Regions from separate parts of the Homo sapiens genome. Here all the other regions are linked to region 1. The links are contacts of gene promoters, found by promoter capture Hi-C in blood cells and fetal thymus (Javierre and others, 2016). All regions are on one chromosome and are shown on one strand. The core of a region is centred on a gene start or on the middle of the fragment in contact, and the rest is flanking DNA. Distances in the headings are between cores, read along the strand shown. Region 1 holds the start of E2F5 (E2F transcription factor 5). Region 2 overlaps WWP1 (WW domain containing E3 ubiquitin protein ligase 1). Region 3 overlaps RMDN1 (regulator of microtubule dynamics 1).

What was found. Contacts are between HindIII fragments. The CHiCAGO score rates a contact against its expected background, and 5 or more counts as called.
Region 2: a contact is called between a fragment that was not itself captured here and the fragment with the promoter of E2F5 in region 1, in 1 of 17 cell types (fetal thymus). The highest score is 6.6, in fetal thymus.
Region 3: a contact is called between a fragment that was not itself captured here and the fragment with the promoter of E2F5 in region 1, in 1 of 17 cell types (total B cells). The highest score is 5.5, in total B cells.

What each region holds. Positions count from the first base shown.
Region 1 is chr8:85,175,687-85,178,923 of GRCh38, reverse strand. E2F5 (E2F transcription factor 5) reads right to left here and starts at 1,770. Exons shown (of 8, transcript NM_001951.4): 1 at 1,270-1,770. The coding sequence starts at 1,503. E2F5-DT (E2F5 divergent transcript) reads left to right here and starts at 1,883. Exons shown (of 3, transcript NR_134311.1): 1 at 1,883-2,093. RefSeq lists silencers at 910-1,299, 1,310-1,839 and an enhancer at 1,940-2,109. The HindIII fragment of the contact is 15,711 bases long and covers 1-3,237 here.
Region 2 is chr8:86,374,142-86,377,324 of GRCh38, reverse strand. All of the region lies in intron 3 of WWP1 (WW domain containing E3 ubiquitin protein ligase 1), which reads right to left. Among named protein-coding and RNA genes, the nearest start is that of WWP1-AS1, 31 kb to the right of the region's middle. The HindIII fragment of the contact is 215 bases long and covers 1,176-1,390 here.
Region 3 is chr8:86,502,778-86,505,678 of GRCh38, reverse strand. The region is part of intron 2 of RMDN1 (regulator of microtubule dynamics 1); the gene reads left to right. It also overlaps the pseudogene SLC2A3P4. Among named protein-coding and RNA genes, the nearest start is that of RMDN1, 4.5 kb to the left of the region's middle. The HindIII fragment of the contact is 3,916 bases long and covers 1-2,901 here.

The DNA of each region.
Region 1 (3,237 bases), core at 521-3,020:
GCCTCAGTTGTATGAAGTTGAACAATTTAGGTAATTCAGTTCAACAATCACTGATTGAACACCAACTACATCCAGGGAAAGGAGAGGGCACTGAAAAGATCTACTTCCCCTTGGGCTACACTGGAGGAGGGCCTCTAGCAGAAGAGTTGGCCCCTGCAAGTCTTGGTCCTTACATTCAGGGAGCTGCCACTGCTTTATGCAGAGCCTTGAGGATGCAGTGACACTCTCAAGCCAGGTAAGGTGGTCCAGGCACTCCCCTGGGAGCTGGGGCCAATCCTCCAAGTAAGGCCACATTTAGGGAGTCAAAGGGGATTTGCAGTGATTATTGGGCAGTTAGTGTTTTTTGTTTGTTTGTTTCTAAAACTTTAGTTCTTAAACTTCGCGCGGAGTGACCACATTCTCATTATCCTGAGCGCTGTTGAATTCTTCCAAATCCTTCCTAGATCGGTTAAGTCATTCTGTATGACAGAACAGCTTTTGATGCCTGCTCCTGTTTGAAAAATCTGAACGCTGTAAAGGACGACGCAGGGAGAGAGTTTACTGAGCACTTCCACCTCTTTGGGTGAAAGTTGTAAAATATCCCCTTTTCGTGTGACAGCAGATCTCACTTTTGGAAACCCATGACACATGCCAAATGAAGTCACAAATCAAATACCCCTCCTAACTATCAGGGTGATGAAAGAAGTGCACAAGGAAGATTTAATACTATTTTATCGGGGAGGGGCGTGGAAAGAAGTACTCTTTTTTTTTTTTCTTTCATCTGGTAGAGATGGCAGACTGGGTTTTGTTTTTCCTCCTTTTTATTTAAACTACAGGAACATGGTTCCAACTGGAATCGCCTATTAAAACCATCCATTCTTAACAGCAAAATCGATATCCACGGTGTCTCCGGGCAAAGCGCCCGTTACCCCGTGAGCCTCTGCCACAGGTGGACGCAGAGCAACAGACACTCGGTTACCCTCAGGTCCCTGCGCCCGGAGACAGAAGCCACGCGGGCGCGCTCGAGGTCCTGGGCTCTTTGTCGAGAGCCCAGCGTGGCGCCGGGCCCCATTGGTTACGCGTCCGCTCGGTGCCATCCTGGTCCCTCGTCCCTCCCCCATCCCGGCGTCCACGACCCGGGCGCAGGCCACATGGTCCTCGGATTGCCCGGTCCCGGGTCCCCGCAAGGCGCGTCTACACCACGCCGCTAGACCCACGCGGCGAGGGGCTGGGCTTCCCCGGGGGCCACGGGTTCCGAAGTCCGCCCCCGTCCCCGCCTCCGGAGCTCACCGCTTTGAGATCCAGAACGCCGTCCTTGGCCTCCTGCAGCAGCGACACGAACTTGGTAGTGAGCAGCCCCAGGCTCTTCTCGTGCCTGCTGCTGCCGCCCCCGGCGCCCCCGAGCTGCGGCGGCGGGGGCGGCTGCGGGGCTTGCGCCTGCGGAGGCTGCGGCGGCGGCCGCTGGCCCTGCCCCTGCCCTGCCGGCGCCTGCTGGCCCGAGCTCGCGGGCTCTGCCGCCGCCATCGCGTCCCGGCCCCGCGGTGGTCGGGCCCCCGCGCACTTTCGCTCGCCGGCCCCGCCCGCGGCCACCTGCCGGGTCGGCTCCGCTGCGGCCGCTTCCCCGCCCGCCGAGAGCGGTAGTGCGGGTCGCTGGCTGCTGCAAACAACAGGTGTGCGGCGCCCACGGGAGTCTGGGCCGCTTGTCACGCCGGGCCTCCGCCCCCTCCCCAAGCCCGGGGAAGCGTGAATGAGGCCCACGACCGAGGGGGGAGGGGTGGAAACGAGGAGAAGGGGCTGCGAGGGGTGGGGACCTGAGTTTAAATGGCAGGAAGTGACGCCGCCGCCCGCCGTTGCCTAGAAACACATTTTTCTGTAGGAAGGAGGAGCGCACGAGGAGGAGGAGGGGTGTTGGCGCGTGTGTTTCACACTCGCCTCCCTGGCGTTCGCGAGCTGACCCGAGGAGTGGTAATCTCACGCGGCAAAGCAGGGAGGAAGAAAAAAAGGAGACAAAAGAAAAAAAGACTTTTATCTGGGCAGAAAGTCACAATGCCTAGCGGCCAAACGTTTGTGAGCGGTGAAGTTGGTTGACTGCTCAAGTTTGCAGAGCTTCAGCAGTAGGTTACTTTCTCTGGACGGTTTCTGCTATCTTTGCTCTTTTCGAGCTCTAGCATCGTTTGCAAATATTTCAATGACTTGGACCAAGTGCAGAGTTTTACTTCATAGCTCACCCTTTTAGATTCGGAGTACAGAAAAAGGCATCGTGGAGTTTTAGGGTTGGTTTTCATCAATCCTTTCCAAGGCCTTTACTTTCTACATGGAGAAACGTGTAGAGGGAGAGGTTGTGAATTGCCAAAGACATGCCGTTAGATTCCAGATCTCCTGTGTTTGACCAAAGTTCTTGACCAAAGTTCTTAATATCTTATTTGAACCAAATTATATTGTATTTGGAATATTGGGTAGCCACAGGCCCTTGGACTTCAGTGATATTCCAAACTATTGATGGCAAATGACATTATGGAGATCTGAGTAAAAGAAAGTCGTTGGGATTTTTTCCTCATTATATTACAAACTCTTGAGAATCCAGACTAAATTTTAAATGACTTGTTGTCACACTCAACACTTTGAATATAGTAGACAATAAAGATTAGGCGAATGAGACCAGGCGCGGTGGCTTACGCCTGTAATCCCAGCACTTTGGGAGGCCGAGGCAGGCAGATCATTTGAGATCAGGAGTTCGAGACCAACCTGGCCAACATGGTAAAACCCCGTCTCTACTAAAAATACAAAAATTAGCGGGGGGTGGTGGTGCCCGCCTATAGTCCCAGCTACTCCAGAGCCTGAGGCAGGAGAATCTCTTAAACCCAGGAGGCAGACGTTGCAGTGTTGCAGTGAGCCGAGATGCCACCACTGCACTTCAGCCTGGGCAACAAAGCAAGACTCTGTCTCAAATAAAAAAAAAAAAGATTAGGTGAATGAAAATTCTATATGGCAATAATTAATCAAGAAGATTTCATGCAAGAAAGATTTTGCTTAATTTTAAGTAACAATAAACTAACAAAAAAGGTCACTGAAGCGACATCAAATACAACAGCATTAACTAGTAAAGCTGAACACACCATTTATAACACATCATAGGCACAGAACTTTATAACCTTTATTAATAACCTATTCATAATAACCTTTATTTTAATCAAATCTATAAACAAAACTTAAAATTGAAAATCTGAAGTAAAACATGAAAAATTCAGTTGATACAAC
Region 2 (3,183 bases), core at 34-2,533, 1.2 Mb before region 1:
GGAGTTCGAGACCAGCCTGGCCAACACGGTGAAACCCCGTATCTACTGAAAATACAAAAAAAAAAAAAAAAATTAGACAGGAATGCTGGCATGCACCTGTAATCTCAGCTATTTGGGAGGCTGATGCAGGAGAATCACTTGAACCCAGGAGGGGGAGGTTGCAGTGAGCCAAGATCACGCCACTGCACTCCAGCCTGGGCAACAGAGCAAGACTCCATTTCAAAAAAAAGAAAAAATCAATACAGAGGTCTTTGTAATCTAATAAAAGGAGCAACAACTTGGAGTCCTAAGACCTCAGTTGGTTTCTCATTATTAACCCAAGGCACTTAATCCCTCTGATTCTCAGTGTCCTCACTGACAAATCAGGAGTAGTAATCTTTATTGCAGAAGTTATTGTGAGATCAGTAAGACTGGTAATTTTAAGGTGACTTTTATTTTAAAAATTAGATCAACAAAACGGAAGACAAAGACAAGAAGAAAAGAAGGCACTAAAACCTGGTGCCATTTAGCACAGGTCCATGATCATTCTTTCCCAAAAGGATCACTGTATTTCAAAGGAGAGCAGCAACTGACGCTCAAAATGATAAATACTGTCATGGCATTGTTTTGGCTACTTAGACTGCCTTGGTCCACATCTATTTTCCAACTGGTTCTCCAGATTTGAGTCACCTGATAGTCTTTCAGTATGTTCTTTTTCACCTCAAATTAGCCAGATCAGGTTTTTCTTTTTCTTTTCTTTTTCTTTCTTTTTTTTTTGAGACAGAGCCTCACTTTATCCCCCAGGCTGGAATGCAGTGACGCCATCTCGGCTCACTGCAACCTCCACCTCCAGTGTTCAAGTGATTCTCATGCCTAAGCCTCCCAAGTAGCTGGGATTACAGGCATGTGCCACTATGCCCGGCTAATTTTTGTATTTTTAGTAGAGATGGGGTTTCACCATGTTGGCCAGGCCAGTCACAAACTCCTGGCCTCACGTGATCCACCTGCCTCGGCCTCCCAAAGTGCTGGGATTACAGGCATGAGCCACCGCGCCTGGCCTAGTTTTTTCTTATTTTACCTAAGAACTCTTATACATAGGTCAAGATCATTTGAAAGTTACACCTCAGGTGTACTGTCCATTGGTCCTACGCAAGTTACAATAAACTGAAAATGTAGTGAAAATAGGGCTCTAAGCTTCTTATACAGAGCAAAAGTAGAAGGAATTATGTAAGTGGTTCTTCAGTGGAGTACCTATCAGCTTCATCAGAACTGTTTCAAAAATAGATGCCCATTATTCACAGAAACCAAAATCCAAATATCCCTTATAGTTCAACCTTACAGTGAGAGAAATGCTATTTTAAATAACACTAAGATACCACTTCAGTGTCTAATTATGAACAATCCCAAAGCTTGACAACAGATTTTGGTTAGGCTTTGGGAAAACAGGCACTGTCATGTATAGCTGGTGTAGACACAAAATGGTGCAGACCCCATGGAGAGGAACTTGGCAATACCTGGCAAAATTACATGTGTCTACCCTTTGACCCAGCAATCTCATTCTAGGATCCTATCCTATTGATACATGAGCAGACATAAGAAACGACTTTTGTATGAAGTTATTTGTTGCAGCACTATTGGTAATAGCAAACAGTGGAACGCCAATGTCCAGCAAAAGGAGACTAGTTAGCTTTTTTACATCTATTCAACAGGATATGGCGCAATGATGAAAAAGAATATTCTGTTATGAAACAAACTCCAGAATAATACTGTAAAGTTAAAAAAAGCAAAGCACAGAGAAGTATGCAAGAATTAGGAGATTAAGAGGAGAGATGAGATACGTATACTGCACATGTATCTGCTTATATTTTCAAAAAGAAGCAACAGAAGGATAAAGCAAAACTAATAAAAATGTGAACCTACAGGGCAAGGGAGAGAAGTGGGAAAATGGGACCAAGTAGCCAGACCTCTCTAAATGTACCTTGGTTTTGACTCTGGGACTATGTAAATGTCTTACAAGGTTATAAAACAAAATTAAAAAAAAAACTGAAAACGATGAACTTAACTAATTATCAATTTGGTGATATAACCAAATAGAGAATTACTAAAGTACATTAAAACATGGTATTTTGATTATACGTCCTAAAGGGGGAAAACACACAAAGAAATCTTAAACTGCAATGAGTAGACCTATTGTTTTTGGTAATTTTTTAAATTACCTTTTTTTCACCTCCTTCTCCCTCTGTTTTTGGTAATTTTCATGTTATTTTGAACTGGTGTAGTAGGATAAAAACAGATATTATGATAATGTCATTTTGAATGGAGATTTTTTGATTAAGAGGAGAGAGTTACAGGCCAGGCACAGTGGCTCAATTTGGGAGGGTGGTGCAAAAGGATTGCTTGAAACAAAGAGTTCAAGACCAGCGTGGGCAACATAGTGAGACCCTGTCTCTAAAAAAATTTTTTTTTAAATTAGCCAGGCAAGGTGTTGAACATCTGCAGTCCCAACTACTTGGGAGGCTGAAGCACGAGGATCACTTCAGCCCAGTAGTTTGAGGCTACAAGGAGGTATGTTTGCGCCACCGTACTCCAGCCAGGGAGAGAAAGTGAGACCCTATCTCAAAAGAAAAAAAAAGATATGAATATAAAGTCAAATTAATTTAAATTTTGTTTCCTTTTAGTAGAAAATGGTACTTATAGACTACAGTTATTATTATGAATTGGAAATATCAGCATGAACTCAGGATGTTAAAATATTTTTTATTTTTTGCTTTCTACAAGAAACATTTCCTAGCTCTGTTAACTGAAACCTCCTAGAAATAACTAAATTCATATAATGAGTACCATGGGAATTACAGTACTGTGTAATCCCACTTAAATATTTGCCCAATGATTGAACAAATGGCTAAATGTATGTAAGAAGGCCTTTGGCATCCTGCTCCATCCTATTAATCATTTAAGGGCCAATGCAATGATACTTATTCAAAAGCCCAAATTCTCCCACCATTACAGAGGCTATATCTTCTCTTCATCCAGCATAGGTTCAATAAATATTTACTGAATAAATAATATAGTTTTGGAGGGCATCTACCTTTGAGGCTTGTTGCAACAAATATGCCATAGTATGAATCTAAAAGAAATTCTATTTCTGGAATAAGTCTGCTGAATTAGGTATTCAAAAGAAAAGTTCATCAGGGAATCACCATA
Region 3 (2,901 bases), core at 322-2,821, 1.3 Mb before region 1:
TTATTATTTGGCAAAATTACACTTAAAAAAATAAACATTTCCATCATGGGACATGTATACCTATGTAACAAACCTGCGCATTCTGCACCTGTATCCCAGAACTTAAAAAATTATGTAATTAAACCAGAGGGTAAAATAAATAAAACTCAAGTTAATTTGCCTTGTAGAGCTATATGGAAGTGAGGAAGGTGCTCTTACATAAACCCCGTCTGCCTTCCACACTCATATGTATATCTTCTTCCTGATAAGTCTGAGGTTGGGGGAACTGCGCCTTACTTTTCCTCTCCTATATCCCCTAGTGCGGCAATATTAGAACCCAAGGAAGGAAAAACTGGCAAAGTTGTCATATGCCAAGTGGCCATTGCCTCCTGAAATGAAGGTAGGTTCACTTGGTCTCTCCTAAGCAGAAGAGAATGTCCAGGAAATAAAATATTTAAAAAACCATTGAAAATCCAACAAACCCCAGCCTTGAGGTGCGCATGGAGTGCGTGGGATAAGAAAGGAATCAAGTAGCAGCATTCAGAAGCAGTCCTGGGTTCATCCTGATGAGGTCTCTCATTCAGGGAGAGGTGGCTTTCCCATGCTGGGAGGGAGGTGGAAGGAGGCATGACTTAGACATTGGTGGTGGTCTCCTTAGCAGCCTGGATGCTGTTCATCTCCATGATGCCATCCTTCCCAGATCTATCTGCACCATGTGCCTGCCTTTTAAAGGCCCATGTGATATCCTCAAAAGCCCTGCCATGGGTCTCAGGGACTTTGAAGAAGGTAAAGGTCAAGAAGGTGATGAGGAAGCTGGCGAAGATAATAAAAATACAGGCTCCTAAATAATAAGCAGCAGAGGGGAAGAGCAGTCCGACTAAGAAGTTGGAGGTATAGTTGGAGCAGCCGGCCATTGCAGTCGCAGCTGGGCGGGGGCCCTGGCTGAAGAGTTCGGCCACAATAAACCAGGAAATGGGACCTGGTCCAATTTCAAAGGCCACAAAGACCAAGATAGCCCCGATAAAGACAAAGCTCATCCCATTATACTCATCCTTTAATAACAAACAGTCATGAGCATGGAACAAAAAGCCATCCCTCCAAGGCCTATCATATGCAGGGTCCGCCTTCCTGCCCTTTGCAGCAGAAATAGGGAAACTACAGTGAAGATAGTATTAAACACACGTGCACCAATGGTGGCATAGATGGGCTCTTGAACACCTGCATCCTTGAAGATTCCTGTTGAGTAATAGAACACAACATTGATTCCAGAGAGCTGTCGAGAGAGCTGGAGCACAATGGAAATGATGATTGGCTGTTGGTAGCTGGATACTCTAAAGAACTCCAGCACGGTGACTTGCTTTTCTTGTGACATCCTTGCACTCTCATCTTGCATCTCCTGGTTGTCTTGGGATACATCCTGGGTGCCCCACAACTGCTGGAGGATCTACTTAGCATTCTCCTCTTCTTTTCTGTTAATGAGCAAAAACCTGGGACTTTCAGGGCAAAATGGAAGGGCTGCACTTTGTAGGATAGCAGGAAGGATGGTAAAGCCCAATAATACCGGCCATAGCTCTTCAGACCCAAGGATGAATTTGAATTCCAGACCAAAGATCTGGGCCACCAGAATTCTGACAATGATGCCCAGCTGGTTGAGAGTGCCAAAGGTACCCTGCAGGGCAGTAGCTGAGATCTCTCCAATGTACATGGGCATAAAACCTGTGCACAGTCCACAGAAGAGGCCAATAACCAAGCAGCCCAGGGTCAGCATTTCAACCAACTCAGCTGCTTTACACAATCCCATAAGGCAGCCACCAGAGACAGCCAACAGGTTGACGATAAGCATTGAATTGCACCTGTCAAAAAGTGGTTGATAAAGAGTCTAACGGAAAAGGAGCCAGTCATACCAACAATGGAGAATATGGCCACAGACAAGGACCAGAGGGACGTGAGCAACATCTCAGAGGGAGGGATATTTGCCTGGTCACTCAAAGTGTTATTGATAAATTCCTTTATGATCATCTCAGGAGCACTGATGACTCCCGTGTTGTAGCCAACTTGGAAAGAGCCAATTGTAGCAACTGTAATGGCAACGATCAGAGCTGGGGTGACCTTCTGTGTCCGCATGGTCCTAATCTAATTCTTTTCAAGTCTTCAATAAAGATCTAGGAGTGTGATTCCAGAGATAACTTTTTCAGGCAACAAAACCTTCAAAATGTCCTTCTCAGAAACGAGTTTTCTCCAGGTCCTCAGGAATGCTCTAAACTCTCACCATTACAGCATCTCTCAAGTTATTTTTGTTATTTTTTTTTGTTTTTTTTTTTTTTTTTTGTTTTGTTTTGTTTTGTTTTGAGACGGAGTCTTGCTCTATTGCTCAGGCTGGAGTGCAGTGGTGCGATCTCGGCTCCCTGCAACCTCTGCCTTCCAGGTTCTAGCCATTCTCCTGCCTCAGCCTCCTGAGTAGCTGGGATTATAGGCACGTATCACCATACCTAGCTAATTTTTGTATTTTTAGTAGAGACGGGGTTTCACCATGTTGGTCAGGCTGGTCTCAAACTCCTGACCTCATGATCTGGCCGCCTCGGCCTCCCAAAGTGCTGGGATTACAGGCGTGAGCCACCGCACCTGGCCTAACTTAGTTATTTTTATATAGGTAATGGAGCTAACATTGCTGTGGTCTAGATTATTTTCTGCCTTTCTCTATGTGTCTGTCTAATATCATGTATATATATTTTTTCCTAGAAATTAGAGCTGCCTCAGTGATGCTTTATTAACGGTTTATATTTTTGTAGAGCCCTTAACCTAAGAAGAATATTCTTTTACATTTTTAAAGGGTTGAGTTTGAAGAGTTGGGGGGAAGAAAAAGAACATGCTACAGAGACCATGTATGGCTCACAAAGCCTGAAATATTTTATTCTCTGGATC